Regions from separate parts of the Homo sapiens genome. Here region 1 is linked to region 2. The links are contacts of gene promoters, found by promoter capture Hi-C in blood cells and fetal thymus (Javierre and others, 2016). All regions are on one chromosome and are shown on one strand. Each heading gives the region's core, a stretch centred on a gene start or on the middle of the fragment in contact. The rest is flanking DNA. Distances are from core to core; before and after follow the strand shown. Region 1 has its middle 62 kb from the start of ST14. Region 2 holds the start of ADAMTS8 (ADAM metallopeptidase with thrombospondin type 1 motif 8).

Region 1 (5,712 bases), core at 2,980-5,479, 210 kb after region 2:
GTGGTGCGATCTCAGCTCACTGCAACGTCCGCCTCCTGGGTTCAAGCGATTCTCCTGCCTCAGCCTCCCAAGTAGCTGGGACTACAGGCGCCCGCCACCACACCCGGCTAATTTTTTGTATTTTTAGTAGAGATGGTGTTTCACTATGTTAGCCAGGAGAGTCTCCATCTCCTGACCTCGTGATCCACCCACCTCGGCCTCCCAAAGTGCTGGGACTACAGGCGTGAGCCACCGTGCCTAGCCTAACAATCCTTTTCATTTTGTTTTACGGTTTATAAACTGCTAGCACTTTTTAGCTATTTGATCTTGAGAAACCCAGTAAGATAAACAGGAAAAGTACTAACAGATGTGTGATCCACGTAAACGGTGCCCTTCCTGCCCATTACAGGGAGAAAGATCCACTGAGAAATCAGGCCGTGAACAGGGCTGGAGTCTCAAGAGGTATTGACTTGGTGGAGTCTCTGTGGACTCGGCTCTCTCCCAAACACAGTTCCTGGAAGAACAGGAATTGGGGTTCTTTTGTGCATTGGCACTTTGTGAAACCTTTGAGGGAGGGTAATGCTGGAGGGAAATGTGAATTCTCTAGGTGGCTGTGTCTAAATTACCTTAAAGGAGAGCCATTGTAACTTTTTCTTACGGTGTGAAAGGAAGTGCTCGTGACCATTTTCTAAAGATGTGCACTGGTCGATTTTTTCTCATGTGCTGTCATCTATTTAATACCTCCACAGGGTTATCCTTCACAGCCCTGTTGATAACATTTTCCATTATTCATCCCTGCTGCTACTAGCTTCATCCGAGCCTGTGTTGTTTCTGGCCTAATAACAGCACCAGCCTCCTTGCTGCCATTCCCTCCCTTCAGCTGGGCTTCCTTCCAGTCCATCCTTGGCATTGCTACTGCAGTCATCTTTCTAATCAGGCCACTGCCCTGCCGAAAGCCTCCTGCCCCCCACTCCCCCGGAACCCGCCCCTCAGCCCTCACACTCCCCTTCTACCTGCCTCGGTTTGAGGTTGACTCACTCCTGTAGATTCCCACAGTAGATTTTGTTTGCCTTTACCAAACCACTTCTCAGCCACACAGCCTTGCAAAATCTACCTCAGAGGAGTTGTGAGAATCGAGTGAGTTACATGTAAAATGCTTAGAACCATGCCTCGTATGTTGTGACCACTTCAGAAGCCTCATCTGTTGATTACAAGACTGGCATCACGCTCGCGTGTCTCCCTCACCTGACTACATTCTTGAGATCAGGGAATATGCCTTCTATTTGTGTGTCCTCTGTAGTACCTGGTACAGAGAACTCAAAAACTGTCAAAGGAATGATTAAATGTTGCCAAGAAGTGGTCATAAGCTCCATGTACGACAGTGCTTACAGGTACTTACCCGGGAACTTTAGGACAGAATACCTAGAATTATTTTCATCAGACTGCCTGATGATTAGCCTCAACTCTCACTTCAGCAAATGTCTCAGAGTCTCACTCGTTTTTAAATGAGGGTCTGAAATAGGCTGTAGGAGTTATGAATTAATACTAACTTTAATCCTCAGAACAACTGCTATCAGCCTGGCTAGACTTTCCCCGAACTGTTCTTTAGGACACTGGCATCTGCCGTTTTTCTCCCCTTCACCTGGTTTCCTCATCCATTAAGTTCATATTAAGTATCCCTTCTTAAGGAAGCTCTCCCAGAGCCTTTCCTGCTAGGTTGAGACTTTGTATTATGTTCACATAACATCCTGCGCTTCTATTACTAATGTAACTGACTAAACAGCTGGACTAAACCCCATTACATCAAGTTCCACTAGGACAGTGACCGTATCTGTTTCTTGTACCAGGGGGTCCCCAGGCCCAAGGTTGTTTGAATGAATGAAGTCTCTGCCCTTAAGGAACTTATGGAAGTAAGCAGAAGTAAAGAAGAATTACAGAAATACAACTGATAGAAATAACTGATTGCCCTGAGAGAAACACCAAAAAGTATACTTTGGAAATTTGAAGAAGTGGGAGACCTGGCTGGAGGGGTGAGGGAAGGTAGCATGGCAGAGGCACCACTTGAGCTGGGTCTTCCTTGGGAAGAGATGTAGGATTTGTACAGACAAGTGACGGAGAAGGAGATGACTCCGGGAAGCAATACGCAGCCTCAGAGGTTGAGGGAACAGAAGGAGTGTAGCTTGCTGAGCCTTGCAGGATCCCTGAAGGGAAAGAGTGGAAGAAAACCTTGTAAACTAGACTAGCACCAGGTCAGAGAAGGCCTGAAGAACTGCAGCTATATTTGGTAGGAAATCGAGAATCGTCTCACATTTTCGAGCACAGAAACATCAGAGCCCTCTCTAGAAATATTAAAAGCAGATTAAAGGGATGCATACGGACTTAACTGAGACCCCTGAGTTACAACAGAACTTCGGGTAAGAACCCAGAAGAAGGGGATGGGAGTAGGGCTGGAGAGGAAGGGATGTGTGTTCGTGACATCGGGGCTGACGGAGACGTGGTAGGTGGGGAGAGTGGGGAGAGGCGGACCTGATCTTCAGTCCAGGTGTCCTCTGTGCACCGTAGAGAATAGCTGCTGCATTCTAAGCTGTAGCAACACCAAGTGTGTGGCCTTAAACGCTTAGGCAACCTCCCTTTTCTGTTGTTGGTTTCTTTGAGAGGGAACTGTCTGAGAGAAAATGGAGCAAGAATTAGGCCAAGTTCAAGAGTTGGGCTTCAGAATTAGGCTAAAGGAGAGATTCCCCGCGTCGCTAATCCCAGCACTTTGGGAGGCTGAGGTGGGTGGATCACCTGAGGTCAGGACTTTGAGACCAGCCTGGCCAACGTGGTAAAACCCCAACTTTACTAAAAGTACAAAAAAATAGCCGGGCGTGGTGGCGGGCGCCTGTAATCCCACCTACTGGGGAGGCTGAGGCAGGAGAATCGCATGAACCCAGGAGGCGGAGGTTCCAGTGATCCGAGATTGCGCCACTGCACTCCAGCCTGGGCAACAAGAGCAAAACTCTGGCTCAAAAAAAGATGGCTTTTCCTGGACAAAGTCGAAGCTTGTTTCCCCAACACAAGCCAAGGACCCTGTGGCTGTGAGCTAGAGGCAGGTGCTTGCGGCACTTATAGATTTTAATTTTTAAAAGAGCTCATTCTCCATATCCAAATTGTTGGCATCTGTGGGAATTTAAAATGCCATTTAAAAGACCTGTACCTGTCAGATCCCGAGACACGTCTTTCCCACAGAGAGTCTGGCTGACTACACAGCTACTCCTGCGTGTAGGACGCAGAATGCCTATGCGTGCAGATGTGCTTCACGGGCATGTGCCATGTGTTCATTCAGTAGATATGAAATGGCTTTCATAAGAACGTTTAACTGCCCTGGAGAAGGCCTGGGAAGGGGATGAGATTTAAACAGGGGCATTGTGCATTTGCATTGATTCATCCGATAGTACCCGATATGTGCCAGTACGAACCCCGCCCCCGCCACTTGCCTATGAGCATTCCAGTCCCCTACATAGATACAGGCTGTCACACACGGCAGGGATTTCCTTGTGGTCTCAAGAGAAACACTGGCACAGACTAGCTTTGGAGGAAGAGTTAGTTCTAACTTTACGTTGTGCTTTGTAAGTACGCCAATACATGCACATGTATCTACACAGACACACAGACGTGTACAACTTATCTCAATGGAGAGTAGGGAAAACTGAAGGAGAGGCCTCCCCAGTTGAGTAAGAGAGAACCTTTGGACCCCTAGTCCTCCCCATGTCATCGGAATGCTCTGTAACCACCAGTCATGCCCACCCACATGCCTTCTCCCAGACCCTGGTGGGATTGGACAGTAGGGCCCTGTGCCTCCACCCATGAGGTACATGACAACAAGAGCCCTTCCACACACACAAATCGCCGTGCTCCCCGTGGAGCCTGCCGTGGCAGCCAGCCCCTGACTGGCCTCTGTTAACAGGCATCAGGTGTGGAAGGAATTGCCCCAATTTGCTGATTGTCTCTCCACCTGGACCGTTCCAGGCACAGTCATCGGTTTGCCCCACCTCTCGTGTGCATCAGCGCACTTTCCAGTTCCTCTTCCAGAGGAAAGCGTAGGTAGGGAGTGGGGCAGAGGGATGAGCAGAGCCAAGAGCAGGGAAACCACCAAGCAGCTCGGCTCTGCCCAGCAGCCCTCAGTCTCCAGGGGAACCAGCTGCCACCCACACAGCATGCAGCGCCCAAGCTCCAGAACCTCGGAGTGTGGGCCTCGTCCCTGGTTCTCCCCACACGGCATCCCAAGAGGCCACCTGTAGGTGCGGGGAGTGAGCAGCTCTGTAACCTGTGCTCAGAGACACTAAGGTTCGGTGCATGCTTCCCAGAAGTTGTCCACGGTGCCGTTACAAGAATAGCCAGTGTCCAAAACAGAGGAGGCTCACGCATCTTAAGAAGGATGAAAAGCATCTGGGTGGCCATGGCAGGTTCCAGGTCATGTGGATCCAGAGTGACAGGAACATGTGGTAAGAAACACGCTTACCTTTCCAGAGCCAAAAACTCATCCTTCAGTGGCTGAGTGCTGATGAAATGTTTACAAACCACTCAGCCCGTACCCTCTGCCTCTGGAAGGTTCCCTCCTTCCGCCTGTGGTAGACGTGCAGGCAGGAGGGCTCTCGGTGCGTGGGGATGCGAGGCAGGAGCTTGCCATGCGCGTCCCTTCCCCTCCCTGCACCTCGCTGCCCTCCAGGCGTTATTCGGAGGATCCCAGCGGTACTCCTGGTTCCTAGAACAAGGCCTGGCAAACAGACGCCAGTGAGTACCCTCTAGATGAACACATGGGGAGACAGAAGGGTGAAGCTACTGGCCGGGTGCAGTGGCTCACGCCTGTAATCCCAGCACTTTGGGAGGCCAAGGCGGGTGGATCACGAGGTCAGGAGATCGAGACCATCCTGGCTAACACGGTGAAACCCCGTCTCTACTAAAAGTACAAAAAATCAGCCGGGCGTGGTGGCGGGCGCCTGTAGTCCCAGCTACTCGGGAGGCTGAGGCAGGAGAATGGCGTGAACCCGGGAGGCGGAGCTTGTAGTGAGCCAAGATCGCGCCACTGCACTCCAGCCTGGGTGACAGAGAGAGACTCTGTCTCAAAAAAAAAAAAAAAAAAAAAAAAAAAGTGAAGCTACTGGAAATGGGTCCACAGGAATGCAAGTCTGGTAATCAGGTTACAGTTAAACACCCCAAGTACGATATGAGCCTCAATATACTTCCTCCCTCCCTTGGGCATTTTCGGAAATGAAGGAACGCCAATTATGAACTGTTCACAGAGAAGTCCAGCCCTTCACGGCTCGGGGTGCTCCTTGGTGCCCCCGTACCGAAAGTGGTGCGTGCCAGCTCTGCAGGACCTTAGCAAGCCCCACCCCAAGTCTTCATCCACTTCCCTAGGCCTTAATATGAACATAGCAGGTTAGCAGCATTATTTAACCTTGGAGAAGAAAAGCTTTATAGATGTGAAGGCTTCCAGGTACATTAAATAAGAAATCCAAGCTCTGGCAGAGGTGATCTGAGGAGCATCTCTATACCCCTGAGAAGACAGCAAAGAGAGGACTTGGTTCCCCATAGTAGTGACCATGTTCCCAAATTCCCTTGGCCTCCCATAAACCTGCTCCAACCCGGGAATGTGCCAGGGACTCCTGTGTGGCTCCAGCCCTTACCACTCTCCAAGGTCACAGAAGTGAGGCCTGCTCCATGTGTGCAGAGATGGACCGTTTTGGTCAA
Region 2 (6,522 bases), core at 501-3,000:
CTGGGTGACAAAGTGAGACTGTGTCTCAAAAAGAGAAAATCAGGAGTTGTACTCTGGGAAACAGCAAATAAGGGGCTTCAAGGAGGTAAAAACCAGTCATTGAACTGTTACAATAGCCCTGAGGCAACACAGAGTTGTATTCATTGCTTGCCCAGGTCAGACTGTCCCAAGCACTGTACAGGATGTCCCAAGCACTGTACACTGTGCTAGGACGAAGTGTTTTGCTTGTTTTGAGAAAAGGGTTGAAGAGACCATTCTTTCCATTGTCCTTCCTCTAGAAGTGTTTCCCCAAAACATTCTAGACTCGTTATTCCTATCCTATAAATTATGCAGGAAAGGAGGTTCTGCACCATGCTAGGTTGGGAAGTTCATCCTTTCATCTAATTCACAGCTGTCCCTCTGTGTTTCTGAGAAAGCAAAGAGAGGGGGGATACTTAGAGGGAATTTGGCAGCACTTTCCCCTGGGCAAGAGCCTCCTCTTTGGAGGTAACAAGCCCTGAGAGTCTCAGATGCATGCTGAACCACCACACTGCAGGAAGGGGTCAGATGGGCTGAAAAGAATCAGCGATGACCTCGACTGTCAACATCCCCAGCATAAGCACAGAGCTGGGTACCTGGGGGCAGGTGAATTGGCAAAGGATTTAAAGGCCCTGATCCCAGCGGTTCCTAATGCATCACCCACATTGACAACTCAGAGAAAGGCACAGTTGGTGGATGAGTCTAGAGTTTGTAGGTAGAGAACAGGGCCCTCCACCCAATCCAGACCTGTGTCATTGAGACTGGGATGGGATGCAGTTTTGTGGTCTTGAGACCATGTCATCCCTCTCTTCCTGAATACTACCCCCTTCCCTAGGGGGCAGTGGTGACATGGGACAGAATAAATTCACCTCATACACATTTGTTCCTGGGGCTGTGGCAACGCAGTGAAAGGGCCTGCCACCTTACTTGAAGTCCCGGGCAACTAGCAGTATCCAGAAGAGAAGACCTTTTTCAGGGACTGGAGGTCTGTTTCCCTCTTGGGGAAATGCTAACTTCCAACCTCAGTGCTGGTAACTTACCACTGTGCTGGCCTCTGCCCCACCTGCCCTCTAACAGGACAGTGAGAGTCCCTCTTAGGGTTAACCAGGTGGGTTGTTTTTTGTTTTGTTTTTGTTTTCCCCATCTTCAGTTTGGAGTGAAAGTTAGGAAGGCTGTGCAGTAGTGATGAGAGGAGGGCATGATTTTAGCATGACCTTTTCCTCCTCTCCCTTTATGCTTTACAATGAAAAGCTCAGGAACCTTCTCCCCACACAGTCGGATCTCCGGAGGCATCTGCAGGGATCCCAACAGTGTCGGGCTCTGCAGTCGGACTCTGCAGGGATCCGAACAGGGTCGCTGAGACCAGTGCACGAGCCTCTTCGGAAGATGCATCCTGGACTCTTGGCCGCAGAGGAGAAAGCGGTTGGGGTCTCCCAGGGACTCTTTCTAAAGGGTCAGTCCAGCATGGTAGGGGTTAACGTGGGTCCACGCGTAGAGGGAAAGGAAAGAAGTTGTAGTTGACACTTCAGGGGGGCGGGTGGCGGACGGGTCTCGCTGCCTGATTGGTTTTGCATTTCATCCCAATTTTTTTTTCTCCACTCTCTCTCCCTCTTTTCAGTTTCTCTCTCTGATCCCAGGGGAGGGGAAACGGGAATAGTGAGAGATCAAAAATAAACCTCTTATGTCAAGCCGGGAAGGAAGTATAAATAAGAAGGGCTCGGCAGCCCACTCGGTGCTTCCCGGGGTGGGGAGGAGGCAGGAGGCGGCTGCGCGGGGCTGGCGCGGGCAGGGGCGGAGGACGGGCGCACGCGGGCCGGGGCCAGCTGCTCGCGCTCGGCTCGGGGGCGGCGGCGCGGGAGGAGCGGGCTGCGCCAGCCAGAGGGGCCGCCGGGGGAGCGCTCCCGCCGCCGGGCCCCGCGGGCCGAGTCGGCCTTGCACCCGATTGATTCCGCTTTTCCTGGAGAGAGCGGCCGGGCCGCGCTCGGGCCGCCAGCACCTGCCCGCGCCTGGCGGGCTTCTTCCCTCTCCTGCGCGCAGCCACCGCCGCAGCCCCCATGCTCCCCGCCCCCGCCGCCCCCCGGTGGCCTCCGCTCCTGCTGCTGCTGCTGCTGCTGCTGCCGCTGGCCCGCGGCGCCCCGGCCCGGCCCGCAGCCGGGGGGCAGGCCTCGGAGCTGGTGGTGCCCACGCGGTTGCCCGGCAGCGCGGGCGAGCTCGCGCTCCACCTGTCCGCCTTCGGCAAGGGCTTCGTGCTGCGCCTGGCGCCCGACGACAGCTTCCTAGCGCCCGAGTTCAAGATCGAGCGCCTCGGGGGCTCCGGCCGGGCGACCGGGGGCGAGCGGGGGCTGCGCGGCTGCTTCTTCTCCGGCACCGTGAATGGGGAGCCCGAGTCGCTGGCGGCGGTCAGCCTGTGCCGCGGGCTGAGCGGCTCCTTCCTGCTGGACGGCGAGGAGTTCACCATCCAGCCGCAGGGCGCGGGGGGCTCCCTGGCTCAGCCGCACCGCCTGCAGCGCTGGGGTCCCGCCGGAGCCCGCCCCCTCCCGCGAGGACCCGAGTGGGAGGTGGAGACGGGAGAGGGTCAGAGGCAGGAGAGAGGAGACCACCAGGAGGACAGCGAGGAGGAGAGCCAAGAAGAGGAGGCAGAAGGCGCTAGCGAGCCGCCACCGCCCCTGGGGGCCACGAGTAGGACCAAGCGGTTTGTGTCTGAGGCGCGCTTCGTGGAGACGCTGCTGGTGGCCGATGCGTCCATGGCTGCCTTCTACGGGGCCGACCTGCAGGTAGGACTGAGAGCCTCCTCCAGCCGCCGTGCCCGGAGGCCCCCCAGACGCCTCCCAGCGTCTCTAAAATCTCCCCTTCCAATCCCTCTGAGAAAAAAAAAAAAAAAAAAAAAAAGCCCTCCCCACTCATCTTCTCCAGCCTTACCCCAAACGAGATTCTCTCCTGTCTGAGAAAGAGCAGTAACTCTTTTCTGAACTTCTGCCACCCTGGATCCCTGCGCCCCCACCCCCAGGTCCCTTCCAGTTTAGAGTGGGGCTGCCGACGCCCATCCCTCTCATCCGAATCTCCCGCGGCACGTGGCGCACTGACCCGAAAGTGGGTATCAACGCATTCCCCGGCACCTGCCTCTCCCAGCAGAGATGAAAATTGAGCGTTTACGAATAGCTCCCACTCCCACCCCTCAGCCCTCTACTGCCTCCAGATCTGAGAGGCTCCCAGGGAAAGGCAGATGGGATGGAGAGAGATGGCTGTCTGATTCCCTTGGGTATGGAGGTCGCCATAAGCAAAAGACATTGTTTGAAAGGAGCTGAACCTGGAGAGGGGCTGCCCAACTTCTGTGCAGCCAGCTGGTTGTGATCAATGGGGCATGGACTACCTTGCCAACCTGGCGCTCAGCCCCGGCAGAACTTGGCAATGCCAGCAGCCAGCACAAGAGGGAGGGGCAGAGAACTTCTGCCTGGGGGCTCAGCCCAGGAGCTGAAGCTTTGGTGGAAACGCGAGGGGCGCAGGGGCTGGAACGAGCTCTTTGGGTGAATGTCTCTAGTAAAGCCAGACCCACACTTGGTCCACCCAGCTGCCCTTAGCCCAGACACAGCTCTTACCTAAACAGGGGAGAAAAACAGAGTCCAGGGGATGGCTACCTAACCAGACCATTTCTAACTAGATGCAAAGATGGTGCTGACTCAGCAGGAGGTGTCTGTGTTGCCCTAAACCCCAATTTCTCCCCTAAAGACCAGGTGAAGGCTTTTCCAGGAGGAAAAGAGGGTAAGGCTTCCAGAAGAGGGGTGCTCTTTGCCCCTAGGGAGCACAGAACCAGAGATGTGCCAGGGAAGGAAGAACTGACCTGCCCAGACGTCATAGTTCCCTGAAACAGGGATCCTGGCAATGCAGCAGCTAAGCTGACACTTTGTGGTGATGGCATCCTTGGCCGGGACCCAATACTAGGCTCAGTCTGTGCCCGACTGCTGGGGGCCCCAAGGGCATAGGCATTGCCTGTGCAGAATAGTCCAGACAAGGAGGCGATCAGCCTTCTGTTTCTCACCCCATCTTTCCCACCCTCTATCACTGGGAAAGGCAGGGTAGGAAAGACCCAGGGAGAAACAGATGATTAGGATGGGAACTGCTGTGGGTGAGAGTCCACGTGGCTGCCCCTCTGGCTACTGCAGGTGCTGACTACACCCCAGGGACGCACCCCTGCAAGCCCTTGTGGTATTTGCTTCCCCAAAAGCAGGGCAGAGCAGCTTTGGGTCACGCTGATTTAACACCTGTTTCCCTGCCTGTCCTGAGAGCACGGAGCGGTGGGAGCACCAGCCCTCTCCTCTGACTCCTTTCTTTAAGCAAGTACTAGAGAGTGTGGCAGGAGAGGGGTGAGAAGAGGGCTTCTCCCATCTCTTTAGGACCCCCACACCTGGCTCCTAGGGGGCTCCACCAGAAAGAAGCTAAGATGGCCGGGCACGGTGGCTCAAGCCTGTAATCCCAGCACTTTAGGAGGCCGAGGTGGGCAGATCGCAAGCTCAGGAGATCAAGACCATCCTGGCTAACACGGTGAAACCCCGTCTCTACTAAAAATACAAAAAAAATAGCCAGGCGTGGTGGTGGGCGCCTGTAGTCCCAGCTACTCGGGAGGCTGAGGCAGGAGAATGGTGTCAACTCAGGAGGCAGAGCTTGCAGTGAGCGGAGACCGCGCCACTGCACTCCAGCCTGGGTGACAGAGCAAGACTCCATCTTAAAAAAAAAAAAAAAGAAAAAAGAAAAACACAAAAAAAGTAAGAAGCTAAGATGCACCCATTGCAAACCCAGAGCGGGGTGCTACACCCCTCTACCCCCACACATGGAACAGATTCTGACATCTACCTAAGAACCAAAACATAGGAAAGCCAAGAGAACTCCGTGCCAGCAGAGAAAGTCCATTTTTCAGCCTTCAGGGCCAGACTGTCTCACTCTCTCAGCTGATCACCTGGACGCTGGAGATAACTGAGTATTTGCCTCAGGGACATACTCGCATCTCCAGACATCCTAGCTATCTAGAGGCAGACATGCTCTGAGGCCCGACCCCAGGATGCCCGGGCTGCTGAAGCAGGAGACTCTGCTTGGGTTTGCACCCGATTTTGTTCCCTTCAGCTTAAAGTTCAGGTCTGCTGCCCCAGACAATTCGGCTTTCTCTGTGTCAGAGACACCCAGGCATTGCCATCCTCATGAGACTCCTGACCGGGCGATGTGGCTCCTGCTTGCCCCGCTCCCCATCCCCCACAAACACGCATTTCTGGACCTTTCCCAGCTGCACATTGGCACCTGCACACCCAGCCAGCCCACCTGGACCAGGAGAGCGCAGCAAAACAGGCATCGGGCACCTCTGAAGGCTGAGTTCCTCTCCCTAGGGGGTTGACTTCTGAGTCTCACCTGGAAGAAAAGTCTTCCCTCAGGGAGACTAGCCCCGCCACCTCCACCCTGGGTCTCATGTCCCATCCCACCTGTGCTCCTGCTGCCACCGTGGCGGGTGGGGGAGGGACTGAGGTACAGCTGTGTCCAGGACCACCCTCGGGCCCCTGTGCTATGATGAGCTGACCAGCCTTGGAGATGCTGCAGGACAGGCGTGACTGTCTCAGCTCAGTCCCCTGCGCTTCCGAAAACAGATCCATGAGCCCAGCTGAGAGAAGAATGAAAATCAAGTTCCCGTGCCTCAAGACCTTGGCTGCCCACACCCACCTCCTGCAAATGGAAGCCAGTCCTTTATGTGGAGACCTCATTCACACAGAGGGAAGGCACTCTGGGGTGATTACTCTTGGTAATCAGGGGTGTGGAGGATGAGAAGAGCCTTTACCTCTCTAGGGCTTAGAGTTCCTCATCTGTGAAGCAGGACACCTGGACTAGGTGATCAATCCCGGTCTGAGCACCTGTGTGGCTGCTTCATGATGAGCCAGTCTTCTGGAAGGTTTAGCCACTCTCTGAGCGTGTTCAATTCACAGCGTGGTTTTACACACATCACCTCCATGAAAATACCAGTGAGGGGGGCAGAGGGAGACTGCACAGCTCACAGAGGACATGTGGCTTCCTCAGGATCAGACAGCACCGATCAGGATCAGTAAGTGGCAGGGCTGGGCCTGCAGACCAAGTCTCCCAAAGCTGAATCCTGTGCACTGTTATCCCACCAGGCGGCCTCTTTCTCAGGACTAGGGTCTGTGGCTCTGTCGACCCTCTGATACTTGCTTATGTTGTGGGAGTGGGTCTTTAAATCCAGCAGTTCAAAGCCATCCAGGCCCACTGTGAGGCCCTATCCTGCAAAGAAACCGCCGTGGAGGCTGAGAGAAAGAACGCACCACTGCCAAAGCTGGTCTCACTATGTTACGCGACAATGAAGTTTTCCAGAGCTCTGTCAATTGAGTTCATTTAATCCCATGAGAAAAGGGGCCCCTGTCTCCCACCTTCTTATCTGGTTTCAGAGTTAAGGAGCTCAGACAGAGGGGCCTTTCTGAAAGGAGGGACCACCTGGGAAGACTCCATTAGCTCTGT

Evidence for each region. The method cuts DNA at HindIII sites, captures the fragments that hold promoters and counts their contacts. A CHiCAGO score of 5 or more calls a contact.
Region 1: a contact is called between a fragment that was not itself captured here and the fragment with the promoter of ADAMTS8 in region 2, in 5 of 17 cell types (naive B cells, total CD8 T cells, total B cells and 2 more). The highest score is 7.9, in naive B cells.

The regions. Positions count from the first base shown.
Region 1 is chr11:130,218,936-130,224,647 of GRCh38, reverse strand. No RefSeq gene overlaps it. Among named protein-coding and RNA genes, the nearest start is that of ST14, 62 kb to the right of the region's middle. The HindIII fragment of the contact is 2,414 bases long and covers 3,023-5,436 here.
Region 2 is chr11:130,423,837-130,430,358 of GRCh38, reverse strand. ADAMTS8 (ADAM metallopeptidase with thrombospondin type 1 motif 8) reads left to right here and starts at 1,750. Exons shown (of 9, transcript NM_007037.6): 1 at 1,750-2,792. The coding sequence starts at 2,073. The HindIII fragment of the contact is 10,262 bases long and covers 1-3,497 here.